Linked DNA regions of Homo sapiens: region 2 is linked to region 1. The links are contacts of gene promoters, found by promoter capture Hi-C in blood cells and fetal thymus (Javierre and others, 2016). All regions are on one chromosome and are shown on one strand. Each heading gives the region's core, a stretch centred on a gene start or on the middle of the fragment in contact. The rest is flanking DNA. Distances are from core to core; before and after follow the strand shown.

The links. The method cuts DNA at HindIII sites, captures the fragments that hold promoters and counts their contacts. A CHiCAGO score of 5 or more calls a contact.
Region 2: the fragment with the promoter of NGRN here is called in contact with a fragment that was not itself captured in region 1 in 1 of 17 cell types (naive B cells); the score reaches 5.4 in naive B cells.

What each region holds. Positions count from the first base shown.
Region 1 is chr15:90,595,461-90,598,709 of GRCh38, forward strand. The region is part of intron 3 of CRTC3 (CREB regulated transcription coactivator 3); the gene reads left to right. LOC124903555 (a long non-coding RNA gene) reads right to left here and starts at 518. Exons shown (of 2, transcript XR_007064758.1): 1 at 431-518. RefSeq lists enhancers at 500-569, 2,737-3,031. The HindIII fragment of the contact is 4,338 bases long and covers 1-3,249 here.
Region 2 is chr15:90,264,197-90,267,137 of GRCh38, forward strand. NGRN (neugrin, neurite outgrowth associated) reads left to right here and starts at 1,476. Exons shown (of 3, transcript NM_001033088.3): 1 at 1,476-1,680; 2 at 2,092-2,202. The coding sequence starts at 1,517. It overlaps TTLL13 (tubulin tyrosine ligase like 13), which reads left to right. Exons shown (of 15, transcript NM_001396017.1): 15 at 524-1,281. The coding sequence ends at 771. It also overlaps a transcript of CIB1 not described here. RefSeq lists enhancers at 488-1,459, 947-1,076, 1,437-1,666, 1,460-2,430. The HindIII fragment of the contact is 8,147 bases long and covers 1-2,708 here.

The DNA.
Region 1 (3,249 bases), core at 381-2,880:
TGAGGCAGGAGAATGGTGTGAACCCGGGAGGTGGAGCTTGCGGTGAACCGAGATCGCGCCACTGCACTCCAGCCTGGGCAACAGAGCGAGACTCCGTCTCAAAAAAAAAAAAAAAAAACCAATGTATATTTTTTCAGTTCTCAGTTCCCTCTTTTTCCTGTCAGTGCTCTCATTTCTATATATTAGATTAAACATTATGCTATATATACGTGTGTGTATGTATATGTGGCTATCTCAGATACTTTTGAAGTACGGTCTAAATGTATAAGCATGCATATAGTTTTACTAACCAAAATAGAGAAGGGAATTGAAGAAAAAAGAGGAGAATGTTTATTCACTTATAAAAATTATTTGTTAAGTATGTGCTAGTGGTCAGACACCGTTTTAGACATTTTAATTCACTGTAACAGTAAACAGCATGGTCCCTGACCTCAAGTTGCCCAGGGTTCAGTGGGAGAGGCTACTCAGCAAACAAGCAGCCACGGCAGGTATGGCGTCTGCAGGGAGGCAGCTCAGGGGCTGTGGGAGCACGTCGGAGGTGCAGCTTGAACTAGTCTGGGGAAACGAAGAAGGCATCCTGGGGGAACATCTGAGGCTTGAAGGATAAGAAGTAAGAGGATAAAGTGTTCATTCAGCAGATCTTTACAGAGCCCCGTCTCTGTGCCAGGCACTGTTCTAAGCACTGGGGACCCAGTGATGAATAAGGGAGGCATACTTCCTGCTTTCTTGAGTTCACAGTCCTGTGGGAGATGACAGCAAACAGGCAATAAGAAAGGAAAATGGTTTTAGATGGTAATGAGTGAGATTTAAGAGAGTAAAGCAGTTGGGAGGTATGTTCCAGGCAGAGGGAAGAGAATGTGGTGCAAAGTCCTACCCAGAAGGGGAGATGACTTCTTGTGTTCAGGGGACCCTATCTCTTATGATAGGGTATAATCTGGCACTGTATGGATCAACTTGAGAGCATAAGCAAAGCTAGTCAACTCCTAAAGGAAGGAGAAACAAAAACCAAGTTAATATGCAGAGAAATTAAAGTTATTAGACAGTATGAGTCAGATTCACTGATCATGAGCCATGTCTCTGTGGTCTCCTAAGCTCCTAAATTGGGTTCCTGGGACTGGACATCGGTTGATGCAAAGAAAGTTCTTTAGCCCAGTCTCTTTTGAGGAATCAAGGGTCCGTGAAATGGGATGATTTTATTTTGGTGTTAATCTATTCCACTTGGAGGAGGAGGGCTGTGATTCCGTCTTTGCTTTCACGACCTGCATTCTGTTGGTTGTGAAATAATCTGCTTAAAATTGTGGCCTTGAACATTTGTCTATGACTTTTTAAATGAAGTTTCTTCATTTGAAAGTATAAAACACTAGTTTGAATCTTTGTTAGAACAAAAGGAAAAAATCAGAATTATTATAGCTGTTTCTTGGCTTGGGTGTTATTTAAGACACACTGGCTTAGACAAGGGTTTTAAGGGTTCACTCCTATGATAGGGTGATCTCAAATAAAACGAACATTGTTTAACAAATACTCTGGCCTCCTCTCAGAGTGGGCAGCCACAGCACGCAGAGCTCTGCCACAGGAGATTCCTTCTGGAGTGGGCTTTGCCCTTGGCATGGGTGGCCACACAAGACCAAGGCACAGCTGCAGCTGGGCCCTGGCCTAGCCCCACACAGGCGGAGGAGAGGCACTGCCAGGGCTTGCTCCTGGCTGGGGGCCTGGGCTCGGGCACTTGGAAGAGAAGCTCTTCTGCCCTTCTGCAGATGTGCAGTCTGTAGCAGCCCTTCTTACTCTCACTCATCAAGGTTGGCAGACGTGCCGTGTCCCAAACACCATTGCTAAACTTCTGAACTATTAACATAAATTTATAGCAAATAAAATATTTTCTCAGCCTTGTGGATGACACGCTCAGAAGGAAACACGAAATGCCTTCCTTGAAAGGAAGTCAAGAGTTCACCAGCGTGAAGGGTCGTGAAGAGATGCCTAAGACCTACTAGAGTTAGGAATGATTCTCCTCTCTGGGCTGGGCCTTGCTTTGATTCTTTTCATCATAATGAGATGAAAATGTTAGGACATTGGTTTATAGGACACTGTTTCTTTGAGATGCATGGCCTATTACATTTGAGAAACACCATACTCTGTATCACCTCTTGGAGCCTGACCGTATATATCAGGGCTCTGAAAAGTCCTGCAGTTAATAAACTTCTTATCTTTAACCCAGAATTTCAAAACTTAAGTGATCACAAAATCCAACTGTTACCTAACACCCGTCTTATCTTGAAGGACAAGGAAACATTGGTCTTTAGAATTTTAAGGGGGAAATATTCTGACTTCACAATACCACATGCAACCTGTTTGCCTCTCATTTGCTGAGGGAAACAGGATGTTCTTATAAATGCAAGGACTCAAAAAGATGCCACTCATATCCTCCCTTACAGTTTCACTTTAAGATGTCTTCTAGTGGGACATAGTTAGAGGTAAAGGGACAAAAAGAAGTAGAATGACAATAAACACATGGCTGAGCAATCAGGAAGGAGCCAAATTGTGGCCAGTTTTATATATTAAATCTGACCCTGAAACTTGTCTTGGTAGGTGGGTTCTGTTAACCAGACTCCGAGCCCACTTACCCCACCAGCTACATGGAAGGTCTCAGGCCTGCCCCACAAACTGTGTCCCTGGCAGAACACAGAGTTCCAGAGCAGGAGAGAAATGACTGGCTTCCAGGCTGCCCCGACAAGGCAGTTCCTGAGCCCTGCCCAGGTACACTGACCGCACAGGGACGGGAAGCCAAGAGAAGGGAACCCTGGGCCTGCTCACCCAGCCGCAGGTCAAGCAGCACAAAGAAAGGGCCAGGGCGGGTCTTGTTTTCAGCTTCTGTGGCTCAGTAACCCCACCCACTGGTAAACTGGCCAACTGATGTCCTCTCTTATCAGAAGAAGAAGAGCTGCTCCCCTTCCTTTGGTGAAGAGTAAGAACTGTTCCCTCTAACACTCCACAGGTTGAGAGGAACAGCAGTCCCTGTGTTGATGGATTGAGGCAGTAACTCGAGGAGGAAGATTTTCCTGCACAGAACTGCAGAGGCTTGGGGAGAGAGAGAACACACTGGGATGACTCTGAGATCCTAACATGAGTGTCTTGGTGGACGGTGGCCTCACTAAATGAGATGGACTATAAGAAGAGGAACAGATTAAGGGGACAGTGATTGGTTGGATTTTTGGTAGAATTTGAGCTGTCTTGGGTACTTTTGGCAGAGAACTT
Region 2 (2,941 bases), core at 226-2,725, 330 kb before region 1:
CTCCTTTTTTTTTGAGACAAGGTCACGCTCTGTCGCCAAGGCTGAAGTACAATGGCTTGATCTCACTTCACTGCAAACTCCACTCACGGGCTCAAGTAATTCTCCTGACTCAGCCTCCTGAGTAGCTGGGACTATAGGCACACACCACCATGCTCGGCTAACTTTTGTATATTTTGTTTTTGCCACGTAGCCCAGGCTGGTCTTGAACTCCTGATCCACCTGAATCAGTCTCCCAAAGTGCTAGGATTACAGGTGTAAGCCACCGCACCAGGCCTATTTAATCCTTTCTGTACACTAGACCCTGGTGATAGAAATGGCAGAAATACAGTCCCAGCACTCAAGAGGTAATAGGAACATGGACAAAAAGACATACCATACCAATTACAATACAGTGTGGGAAAGACAGTGGAGGGAAGCATGAGATGCCCTTCCTCTGTGTTGGTAATTGGGCCACAGTTGGGAAAGAGGTGAACAAATCTCTTCTGTGAATACCAACTCAGGGACATCCATGTTTCCACTGCAGAAGGACAAGCCAGCAGAAGGCTAGAAGCCATAAACCGAGTCCTGGCAGGATCAGTGCCACCCACTTTAACCCCAAAGCAGGGCTATTTTCTGCAACCGGAAAGAGTGGCATCTGACTCATGGACTGAATGCACCTTGCCCTCCATGGTAAACTCTGAACACAGAGCAGCCAAGGTTCCCCTCTGCCCTGCGTCTGCACCCATGCTGCAGCGTTCCAGAGCACTCCTCAACATCAATCAGTTCAGGTAAAAGCAGGAGGGAAGCACTCTACCTCTCCTGGATAACCTCCCCAGGTTTCCAAAGGGCATTAAATCTTTGCTAAATGAATGACTGCCACCAAGTTCCACTTTGAAAAGCCCTGCCCAGGAACCCCATTTGTATAAGGCAAAATACAAAGACACCAAGAATTCCTCAATACCCTAAGATTAATTGGGGATCGGTAAAGACTAGAAGATGAAGAGGCGCCAAGGCCAGCCATGTACTCATTTCTGCTCATCAAGCCTTAGCCTGGGTTTATCGCTAGGTGATGGGTCTGAACCCTAGGTGCGGCCCGGGGCTGGAGGCCATCCAGGAGACAATGAGCCCCTTTCCCAGAGAAGCCGAGTGCCCAAGGCACTGGGCTGTCGCCGTCAGAAGACTGCCGAGCGGAAGCCCTGCCCACCGAGGTGGCGGAGACAGGCAGGCCTGGGCAGCCGCTGGGGCGGAGGGACGGCTCTTGGAAACGGAATCCGTACTTTAATTAAAGTTTATGCAGTTTTCCAGGAGCGTCCTGTACCTCATTTCGGCCCTCACGTTTCAGGGAAGCCCTCTCCACAGTTACAGGCAGAAAGGGTGGGCCACTGAGCAGCGTGAGCCCAGATCTTACCCCCACCAAGTGAAGCGGGAAATAACTTGCTACTACCCAGCCTCCGGCCCGCCCCTTCCACTTCCGGTCTTACCCGGCTACTTCCGCTGCTGTTTCGTAGCCGACTGCTGAAGGCTGGTTTGCGTCGACATGGCGGTTACCCTGAGTCTCTTGCTGGGCGGGCGCGTTTGCGCCGCCGTCACTCGCTGTGGGTTCGCGACCCGGGGGGTGGCGGGCCCAGGCCCTATTGGCCGGGAGCCGGACCCCGATTCCGACTGGGAGCCGGAGGAACGGGAGCTGCAGGAGGTGGAGAGGTACCGGCTTCTCCCCGGGCCCTCAGCTTGAAGCAGGGCCTCGTGCCCCGGCGCTCCAGGCCGCGCCCCCTTGGCGCCGGGTGTCCTGCCGCTGCTTGCGCAGCGGCCCTTGTTTCTTCTTACCCGTTGTTAGGGGCGCAGCGTCAGGTGTTCAGCTCCCCTGGGACCACTGGTCCCTTCATTAGTGACGTATTTCATCATCAGTTTAGAGAGTTCGGCATGCTTACAGGCAGTTATTGTTCTAGGTGTTAGCTTTCTGGGTGTACGGAGCAGCTCTAAGCCGGCAACATGGCCCGGTTGCCCTTGCGATCAAAGAGAAGAGGGCTGGGCGCTCCATGATTTAGCCTGAGGCTCTTCAAACATCCATTCTGCTTCCACGCATGGCTTCTGCCATTGGTTCTCTTCCCCCAGCACCCTGAAACGACAGAAACAAGCAATCCGATTCCAGAAAATTCGGAGGCAAATGGAGGCGCCTGGTGCCCCGCCCAGGACCCTGACGTGGGAAGCCATGGAGCAGATACGGTGAGACTCAGGATACCTTGTTTGTATCCGCTGTGATGAGAAGTGAAGGATGCTGGAGCCCAGAAACGGGTTTGGCTTTTTTGATACTGCTTTTATATTTTCGTTTACTTTTTGTCGTTGAAATTTATTATCAGAAAAGTAGAGTAATATAACGAACTTCCCTAACCCTGTCATTATCTAGATTTAATAGTGTTTTGTTTTGTTTTTTAAAGAGACGGGGTTTCGCTATCGCCTCGAACTCCAGACCTCAAGTGATTCTCCCGCCTCGGCCTCTCAGAGTGCTGGGATTACAGGCATGAGCCACTGCGCCCCGCCTGGTTTTAATAGTTTTTAACGTTATGACGTGGTTGGTTCATTTTTACTGAAATTTTTAAATAGTAAATCGCAGACATCACAACATTTAACCCTTGAATGTAGGTTGTGACGTTCCCAACCTAAGGTACAGGGATGCTGGTGCTTCCATAGGTAGGTGCATTTTTCTGAAGACAGGATCTATAATTTAGGAAAGCTTAAAAGAGTTTTTAAGTTTTTTTGTTTTGAGTAGGTAAAGTATTACATATGGCTCAACCTAACAGTATAACATGGTATACACATTGAGAATTATTTGTCCCACCCACTCTCCTGTGGGTACTTTTTTTTTTTTTTTTTGGTAGTTGGGGGTCTCACTCTGTCGCCAAGGCTGGAGTACAATGATGTGATCACCGGTCACTGCAGCCTCTACCTCCTGGGCCCAAGCCAT